Regions from separate parts of the Homo sapiens genome. Here all the other regions are linked to region 2. The links are contacts of gene promoters, found by promoter capture Hi-C in human tissues and cell types (Jung and others, 2019). All regions are on one chromosome and are shown on one strand. The core of a region is centred on a gene start or on the middle of the fragment in contact, and the rest is flanking DNA. Distances in the headings are between cores, read along the strand shown.

Region 1 (2,951 bases), core at 255-2,754, 91 kb after region 2:
CAGGCACTTTGGAAAGGCTATGAACTCAAGTCCTTTTCACAGCCACCCTCCGGACTTTACAGATAAGGCATAGAGTGGTTAAGTAAGTTGGCCGAGGGCACAGGGCTGCAGGCGGCAAAGCTGGGATTGAGACCTGGGAGGCTGGCTCTAGAATTGGGGCTCTCTGTACTTCACAAGATAAGTGCTTCCTCTCTCTGGGTCTGGGTGCCGGTGGCAGGAAAAAGTGGGAACCCAGACCTCTTTCTGTTCTCCAACTCTGTGGCTTTTTAAATTTCCTATTTACGGGCGAAGCCACTGACGGCCTCCAGGTGTAAATGACATGGACAGAGCGAAAGTGGCGTGGTGCTGTGAGGCTTCCCATGGAATTTCTTCATGCCTACTGCGGTGGAATGGTGCATCTGGCAGCAAACCCAAGAACCGAGGCTGGGACACCCGTCCTGGGGTCTTACTCCTGACACGGCTGCTACCCACAGCAGGGGGCACGATTCCACCCCACACACAGCCGAGGTGCAGCGGGGTGGACAGGAAAGGCCTGCTCTCCGGGAGTGGAGGCTGTGGCCGTCATCCATCCATGATTACAGCTCAGATCTGATGAGCTGAATCCTCCAGTAAGGAACACTCCAGGTCCTCACATCTGAGACATGACCCATGCCCAAATGTAAAGCCTATAAAGACCAAAGCACAGGCCTCCAGAGTACACCCTCATGCACAGGGAACGGTTTCCTCAAGATGTCCTAGAAGCATTGCTGGGTGATTCTGCCTGGGGTGGGGAAAGGGAGAGGCAGTGGCCTCACAGCAACTGGACTCAGACACCCTGGGTTCTAGTCTTTTTTTTTTTTTTTTTTTTTTTTTTTTTTTTGAGACATGGTCTTGCTCTGTTACCCAGGCTGGAGTGCAGTGGCAAGATCTAGGCACACTGCGGGCTCAAGCGATCCTCCTGCCTCAGCCCCTCAGGTAGCCCCGGGACAACAGGCCTCCGTTCTAATCTTGGTGCCATCAGTTACTGGCTGTGTGGCCTCAGTTTCTTTGTCTGCACAATGGGGAGGATTATACACCCCTTTACAGGGTAGCACTGAGGATAAATGTGTGAAGCATTTGAATCAGTGCCTGAAGCTTGGTGGGCTGGTCATACACAGTGAGCTGGGGCTGTGTTTCCAGTGGATCACAGAACGGATCATTTCTACACGTGAGCTTGAGGAAGCCGCTCAGGAAGGCAGGACAGCCTGGCCGCACAAGAGTAGGCCCTGGTGGCCCACTTCAGCGCCCAGGTTTTTTGCCTGCTCTGGCTGGAGGGGCCCCTTTCTCTTTCTTCTGGGCCTTTAATTTGATGAGTATACAGTGTCACTTCTAGAAAGAAGCCAGACCCGGCTGTTTGAAAGGCACGCATCAGAATAAGTTTCTCCATGGGAATTCGAAAAGAAGAAAAGTCGGGGGAGGGAGGGGGGAAGAATAAAAGGAGGGCTTCCCATGCTATAGTTAGCAGTCCCGGGTTGGCGGTGGCATCCTGATTGCAGGGCACTGCCTCCTAACCAGGGCTTCAGAAGGGCAGAGCTCAGCGTGTAATTAAATAAAACCCACTGCACACTGCGGCCCCCTTGTCACTATCCCACTCTTAGGTTTATTTAATAACCTCTGAACTGGGAGGGGAGAATCATCCAGGAAACAGGGCTTGGGTCATTTATTTTAAAATTATTGGTACAAAAATATCCTGGGTGGTGATTTATGTGCAGCCAGGGGGGAGGAAGTCAGGGACTCCCCCTCCGGCCTAGCGTCCAGGCCTCATTTGTCTCCGGCTCTCTAAGTTCCTCTCAGTTTCCATTATGATTTCGAGTCATAGTAGTGACTTTATATCACAAATAAATCTCCAGAATAGCACGGAAATATTATGTGTATTAATAGCGCCTGTAAAAACATCCGAAAACCTCGTATCCGCTGCAAGACGCTCCCCCGGGATTGGGAACAGCCTGGGCCGGCCTAGCAGATGTCTCCCCAGGGGCCGCGCAGGGGCCCCTGCCCGGCGGCGCCCCCAGCCCCAGCCCAGCCCCGGGGCTCTGTCTGTCGTCTGTTTGTCTGTCAGTGCCCCAGCGACCTGTGACCGACACAGTCCCTCCCCTCTCGCCTTCACCGGGAGCAGCGCGGAGGGGGGAGGACTGTCCCCGCCACCAGAGGTGGGGGTCCCTGCCTCCTGCTCCTCGTGCGCCCCTGAGTCCTCCGCAAGCCACTGCCCCTGGGGCGTCCCAGATCCACTGCGGCCGCGCTCGCGGTCCCTCACCCCCCGTGCCGCCCTGGATACTCACCGACTGTGGGGACTTCCCTGGGGGGCAGCCCCTCCAGGCCGATGTCGCCCTCCTGCATGGCGCGTTCGCTGCGCGACTCCGGTGCACCCGGGACCTAGCGAGTCCAGACTAGGGAGCGACGAAGTCACCCCTGGAGGTCTGCGGCGGCTCTGGGGGCCAAGGTCCGAGCCTAGCTCGGGAGGGGACTGTCCCCTCTCTCCTCCCCAGAGGCAGGAGCGAAGCCGCGCGTGCTGTAGCCAAACTTGGCTGCCCTCGCTCACGGCCGCGCCGCTCCTCCCCCTCGGCTTTTTGGTCTGGGGGTCCCGGGCAGACCTCCCCACCCCCCGGGGGTTACCTGCGGACACCGCCCTCGCCCCGCCCCGCGCTCCCCGGACTCCCAGCGAGCGGCGCGGGACGCTGCAGAGGAGCAGCGGCTGGTCCCCAGGTCCCGGCCCGCCCCCGGCCTCCCGCTGCGCGGGGCGCGTCTCCACCGCTCCCAGACCGTCTTATCAGTTGGGGCGGGCAGTGGGGCCCCGAGCGGCCCTGCGAGGTGCACCCCCAGCCAGGGCCCCAGGGAAGGGGTGTTGACTACAGGAGGGGGCCTTGAGCCAGCCCCCGAGAGACGGGCGCAGCCCTGGGCGCGGGGCGGTTCCGTGAGTGGCCCTGGTTCCCGCA
Region 2 (3,256 bases), core at 108-2,607:
GGTCTGCATGGGAAGAAGGTAGAAGGGAGCTTCTGTCCTTAGGTCCCACAAATTGCTGCTGAGAGCTTCCCTCACCCCAAGAGGAGATAGCCAGTCCCAGCCCTGTCCTATCCTCTTCCGGCAAACTTTGTCCTTCAAGCCAAACCCTTCCTGGGAGAATTCTGCCCCCCTCTCTAAAACATAGGGTTACCTAGACCTCTGGGTCTGGCCCTGGGGAGGGTGGTGGGGATATTGGGGACCTCAGGATGGGGTCCCCAACTTACATGACTGGCTTCCAACCAGTGCCCCCACCTGAACCAGGCCTGGGCGCCCAGGGGAGACAGGGGCGAGGGTAGAAAGCAATCTCCAATGATTGACACCCTGGGCTTTGAGAGTTTCGGTGCCAATGCCAGGGTACCAGGCCCAGTGCCCTGGGCACAATATGCGTTTCTGGCAAGTGAGGACTCGGGACTCTGGCCCCAGAGGATAGTGAAGCAGTGGGGCCTGGCAGTTACCATCATCGTGGAGTGGCGACCAACTTGGCCTTCACCCAAGACCCCCACCATCACCCTCACCCTGGCTGCCCCAACAGGTACCCCTGGCCGCGAGCCAGGAAGGGAAGGTCCCATCCAGGGCGCCAGCCGTGAGCTCTTGGTTGGGCTCCGAGCTGCAGCCCCGGGTGAGGCGGCTTCGGGGCCGCAGAGCTCCGAGGCCGGGCCATGCCTGGGGGCCCGGCGCTGCGCTGGGCGGAGTGGGCGCCGCGCTCGGAACGCTCAGAGCGCAGGCGGGGCGCACGCACTTGGCCAGGGCCGGCGCGCCCTTCCCGGCACGCACGTGCGCGGGTGGGCGCCGCGAACCCTGCGCGGAGGGTGCGGCCCCCGCCCTGGGGTCCCAGGAGGCCCTGCCGCCGCCCGGTTCCCGCCCTCGCCAAGGCGCAGGTGCGCGGCCCTCCCGCCCGGGTCGCGGCCGCCCGCACTCACCGTGCCCTCGGACGGCAGGTAGCCGATGTCCTCGATGGCGCAGATGTTGATGATGTGGACGCTGCGGTCCTCGGCCGGGAGCGTCGAGTACTTCTCGTTGACCCTCATCGTGGCCGCCTGTGCGCTGGGACCGCCGGGCGGCGCGCCCTCCCCATCCACGGCCCCGGCGGCCTCTGCGGGCGGAGACCGCAGCGTTCGCGGCGCGCTCGCAGGGGGCCGGGCCTCCCCGCGCCCAGGCCCGCCGGGGACGTGGCCGCCTCCCGCTCCGCCCGCCGCCCTGGCCCGCCCGGCCCGCGCGCTCGATGCGGGGGGCGCCTGAGCCTCTCGGGGCCGATCGCGCCGCCACCCGGCTGCTGGTCCCGCGGGCCGGCCCGCGCCTGGTCAGGAACTTGGACGCCAGCCGGCCCGCCTTTGCCTTAAAGATATAAGCGCTCTCCGCCCGCCTATGGCAGGGGCGGTGGCCGCGCCGGTCAGATTTTCCGTAGAAATTTAAACACAGGAAGAAAAAGTATTCCATTCCTGCGGGCCCCTCCAAGTTTTATTTTTATCCAGGGAAAGTGCCCCTTTGGATTTTTGAGGGTTTTCATACCGGGTGTGAAAGGGGGGAACTTTCAATAGCCCCACCTGAAATAAAGTCCCCGAGTGGCAGGCGCTTCTGTGGCGCGTCACCTCCGCCTCCGGGGGGAGTGAAGCTTCTGAGATTGGAGTCTGGATCTCTGCCCCTTTCCCTCCACCCTGGCAAACTCCTGCTGTCACTCAGCACTCACCTCCTCCGGGGAGCTTGCCTGGTTCCTGCCGACCCGCCCCCTCCAGCTGCCCGCGCTCCTGGGGGAGTCTCTCCCGGGGCAGTCATCTCCCTGGAGCCCACTGATGTTACCGGTGCCCCCGAGTTTACGGAGTGCTTAGTGTTCTGTGCCCAGGTGCGTGCAGCGTCCCTGATGTAGGGCGTGAGTGTGTATCATCTCATTTAACCCCGCACCTGCAAGGTTGGAATGCGGGTCCTCATTTTGCAGAGGACACTCAGGCTTAGGAGGGCCAAGGACCAGTCCGCATCCTCTGAGGTGGGGCGGGGCTCCTGCAGAGCTTTCCCCACTGCTGGGCAAGGCTGTCCTGCTTTCTGGAGGGGCGGAGCGGGGGGGATGGTGGCTTTGATCTCTCTTACCCCCGGACCTAGCAGGGGTCTGGCACACTGCAGATCTTCAAGTCTTCTTCCCCTAAGGAGAATAAGGCAGGTCCCCAGGGGACGACCATACTCAGGTTAAGCCCCAGGGGCCATGCTGGCCACCACATCCAGTGGAAATAAAGTGTCCCTCTGCCTCTCACATCCTATGAGTTCTTCACGGTGTGCATCAGATAGCACCTCCTGCAGGAAGTCCTGCTGGATTCTCCCCTACTGTCCCCTTCCCACCCAAATATGCAGGCCTTCCTGTCTATCCAAAGAACCTGCCTGAACCCCAACTAGCACTTCATTTATTCCGTCTCATTTTACAGTGGGTTGTCTACCAGGTTCACACAGCCGATGCTCAATAATTGCTTGTTAAATGGCCACTGGGGAACATTCAAGGCCTACAGAAGTGATTAGAAAATTGTCTTTAAAGGCCACGATGTCGTCAGCGTGCCATGGTTCCAAGCATGGAACCTGGAGTCAGCTAGGATAGGGTTGGAGAGAAGGGGTGGGGTCTAGCTCCAGCTCTGGCACCTTCCAGCCTTGTGACCTTGTGCCAGCCTCCTTGGCCTCAGAGCCTCCTGGGCCTCAGAGCCTCTGCCTTCTCATGGGAGTTTTAAGCGTGCCTGAAGCTGCCAGGCTTAGCAATGGTGACTGTTGTCACTACTAATGTCATCTTGTCATGACCTACCCTTTCCTGGTGCCTCAGTGAGACTCTCCCATTTAGGCACAAGTCTGTGACTTCCTTGAACTTGGGGCGGTGCAGGAAGGCTATTTGGTTCTCAGGCTGGTGGTGCCAACGGGCACTGAGTGGCCCTAAAGGACCCTTTGTCTGCACCTTGGACAGCGAGAGAGGGTTTGGAGAAGTGCCCCAGGCTGGCCAAATCCATGCCAGGAACAGTGCTCCACAGCCTCTGCTCCTTAAAAGTTCAAGTGTCCAGGGCTGGGAGAATCCCACACGCATGTACAGAGGATTATGTAACTCCATCCACTTATCTTTGTTGGTAAACAACCAACATTGTGTAATACTAATGTACTGTCTTTTCAAATTTGTGTTCGAGTGCCAACAGACCTTCCAGAGCTCTATGAGGTGCAGTTTGCATGAAAAAAAAAAAAGAGTAAAAATATACTT
Region 3 (3,227 bases), core at 324-2,823, 75 kb after region 2:
AAAGACTAAAGAGATGTTCAGTAGCCAGTGGTGACATTTGTAATGCACCCATGATAAGAATGTTTCTGTCACCAATTTTTTTTTTTTTTTTGAGTTGGAATCTCGCTCTGTCACCCAGGCTGGAGTGCAGTGGCACGATCTCGGCTCACTGCAGCCTGCGCCTCCCAGGTTCTAGCAATTCTCCTGCCTCAGCCTCCTGAGTAGCTGGGATTTCAAGCACCTGCAACCACACCTGGCTAATTTTTGTAGTTTTAGTAGAGACGGGGTTTTGCAATGTTGGCCAGGCTGGTCTCGAACTCCTGACCTCAGGTGATCCACCCACCTGGGACTCCCAAAGTGTTGGGATTACAGGTGTGAGCCACAGCGCCCGGCCTCTGTCACCAATTCTAATTCCCCAAGTCAAGGACTGTTCAAAGGTGCGCTAGTGTAAATCAACCTCACTTGTGCCCACTGTGTTAAATCTCTCCCAGTAGCACTGAAAGCTTATTTGCCAAGTCTAGAAGAAAGCAGGGCAGCCACACAAAAGATATCTCCATTGCTCCACGATATTTTTTGAGGGCAGTGTGATGGAGAAGCCTGTGGCTGCAAGCTCTGAGAGCCAGGAGATGCTGCGTAACGTCGCGACACGCTTTATTCTCATAGCCCCCATCTGACAGTGGCCTGGAACCCTGTGTTCCCACTGTGTGGATTTGAGCACTGGCTCCACCACATCACAACCATGTGAGAGGTTGCCTCACCTTAAATTGGGGAAGGAGCAGTACCTCCCTCGAAGGGCACAATGACTAGTCATGAGATGGTCCCTGTAAAAGTGCACATATAAGCATCCGGCGTGTGGTCACACACAGCAAATATTAGCCATTGTAATTTCTAATAGCTGTATCTTTTTGTAACCTGTTCTTTTTGCACACACTCTCTCTCATGTAACTGTGTTCTGGACTACATCTCACTACTCTAAAGCTCACGTCTAGCACAGACCAGATGCTTGAAAAACATCCAGCCAACAAGATGGGAACACAGCGCTGCCCTTGTGAAGACAAAGTCAGGTGGGGTGCAGGGTGGTGAGACCACTGTGTGAGGACCTGGGGCTTTGGGGGCCGCTGAAGGAGCCCCTGGTGGGCTCCTGGGGACTGGGAAGAGGTTATGAGGGAGGTCCAAAGGGTCGGAGCAGGAGGAAAAGTGCCTCAGGCTGAAGGAGGAGCTCGTGGGTGGTCTGGACGGGACAGTGTGCCTGGATTCTTCCAGAAGTGGGGAGAGGCTGTATGGTTGGCACGTGGAGGCTGGGAGAACATGGCAGGAGCTGAGGGCCAGGATATAGCAGCCTCACACTATTCCCTGTGGGGTGTCCACAGGTAGCCATCCAGTCCCTACTTAGGGTCATTTCTTTTTCACTGTTCTATGTGAAACAGTCTTTATCCACCTGCTCAATCAATTCTGTAGGATATGTTTCTAGGATTGGAGTGATTTGATCAAGTGGTAAACATCTGTTTTATTTACTCCATCCTCTCCATCAATACAATTACCTATCCATCCACCCATTCCATTCATCTACCCATTTATCCATCCATCCATCCATCCATCCATCCATCCATCCATCCATCCATCCATCCACCCATCCATCCACCAACAATTTATTAAGCCCCAGCTCTGTGCTAAGCACTGGACATAAAGGGTGATATGCCCTCCCAGCACAGAGTAAGCTTCCTGCAGCCTGAAGAGGGCTGTGGAAGGGAACACTTTCCATACAAGAATGCCCTGCATACAGGAGGTACACAGTAAGTCTGTGGGAGAATTGGTGACGACATGCTGCCAAGCTGTCCTGAGACCAGTGGGACCATATCAGAGTCAGGAGACAGCTTGTTTTCCACAGGCTGAACCATTGTAATATTGACCGATTTTGCCTGTTTGATGAGCATCTCAGATCCTATAATGTGGATTTCTCTGATTATGAGTAAAGCTGTCTTTTCTAAATAGTTAGCCATTTTGGTGGTAAGTTGCCTATTGTGGTCATGCCGATTTTCCCATTGGTGTGTTGGTCTTTCATTTTAAATTGGTCTGTAAATATGTGTATTTTAGAGTGATAAAAACAATTCTTTATTGGATACTCAGCAAATAGTTACCCCCAGCTTGATATTTTTCTTTCTATTTTGTTTACGGTGTTGTTTCTTTTTTTCTAATCTGTGGAAGTTAAAAATTTTTCCTCGACAGTTTTTGGGTTTAGTATTGTGCTCAGAAAATCCTTCCTGAAGATAATGTAAGTGTCCATCTTATTTTCTTCTAGAATATTTATAATTTTATTTTTATACTTAATGATTTTGTTTTTTGCACTCAGATCTTTACTTTGCCTGGAACTCACTTTGGGGTATTAGGGGTATAGAATCAGACAGGAACCAGAGTTTGCTTTACCCTCAATGGTTGTTGGCCGTTTCCAACAGAGGAAGTGCTCGACGGCACCCATGACTTCTTTAAAGCTGTTTCCTGACCTATATCTTCTAACTGAATTAGAAAATGCAGTCATGCACCACTTAACCACAGGGACTCTGAGAAATGTGTCATTAGGTGTTTTCATCATAGTGTGAACATAGAGTGTTCTTACACAAACTGAGATGACGTAGCCACCGCACAGCTAGGCTGTATGGCGTGGCCCATTGCTCCTAGGCTACAAACCTTCACAGCATGTTACTGCACTGAATACTGTAGGCAACATAATCGTAAGTGTTTTTTTGGTGTTTTTTTTTTTTTTTTGGTGGAGTCTCGCTTTGTTGCCCAGGCTGGAGTGCAATGGCTCTATCTCGGCTCACTGCAACCTCTGCCTCTCGGGTTCAAGCAATTCTCCTGCCTCAGCCTCCTGAGTAGCTGGGACTACAGGCACATGCCACCATGCCTGGCTAATTTTTGTATTTTTAGTAGAGATGGGGTTTCACCATATTGGGCAGGCTGGTCCCATATTGGGCAGGTTTGGGATCCTGACCTCATGATCCACCTGCCTTGGTCTCCCAAAGTGCTGGGATTATAGGTGTGAGCCACTGCGCTCAGCTGGTAAGTATTTTTATATCTACACATAGAAAAGGTACATTAAAAATATGGTATTACAATCTTACGGGACCACCTAAGATTGTAATAGCACAGATTGAGGCCATCCAATCTTATGGGACGGTTTGGGACCACCGTTGCTCTGTATGTGGTTCGTCATTGACCAAAACATCATTACAGCACATGGCTGTAATTTA

What was found. Contacts are between HindIII fragments. The study calls those that stand out against the background at their distance.
Region 1: a fragment that was not itself captured here is called in contact with the fragment with the promoter of ANO1 in region 2 in 2 of the 25 tissues and cell types used here (IMR-90 fibroblasts and stomach).
Region 3: a contact is called between a fragment that was not itself captured here and the fragment with the promoter of ANO1 in region 2, in 2 of the 25 tissues and cell types used here (bladder and stomach).

What each region holds. Positions count from the first base shown.
Region 1 is chr11:69,985,513-69,988,463 of GRCh38, reverse strand. It overlaps a transcript of ANO1 not described here. Among named protein-coding and RNA genes, the nearest start is that of LINC02753, 78 kb to the left of the region's middle. RefSeq lists an enhancer at 1,564-2,381. The HindIII fragment of the contact is 3,913 bases long and covers 1-2,951 here.
Region 2 is chr11:70,076,418-70,079,673 of GRCh38, reverse strand. ANO1 (anoctamin 1) reads right to left here and starts at 1,357. Exons shown (of 26, transcript NM_018043.7): 1 at 960-1,357. The coding sequence starts at 1,067. The HindIII fragment of the contact is 18,532 bases long and covers 1-3,256 here.
Region 3 is chr11:70,001,977-70,005,203 of GRCh38, reverse strand. It overlaps a transcript of ANO1 not described here. Among named protein-coding and RNA genes, the nearest start is that of LINC02753, 62 kb to the left of the region's middle. The HindIII fragment of the contact is 3,461 bases long and covers 1-3,227 here.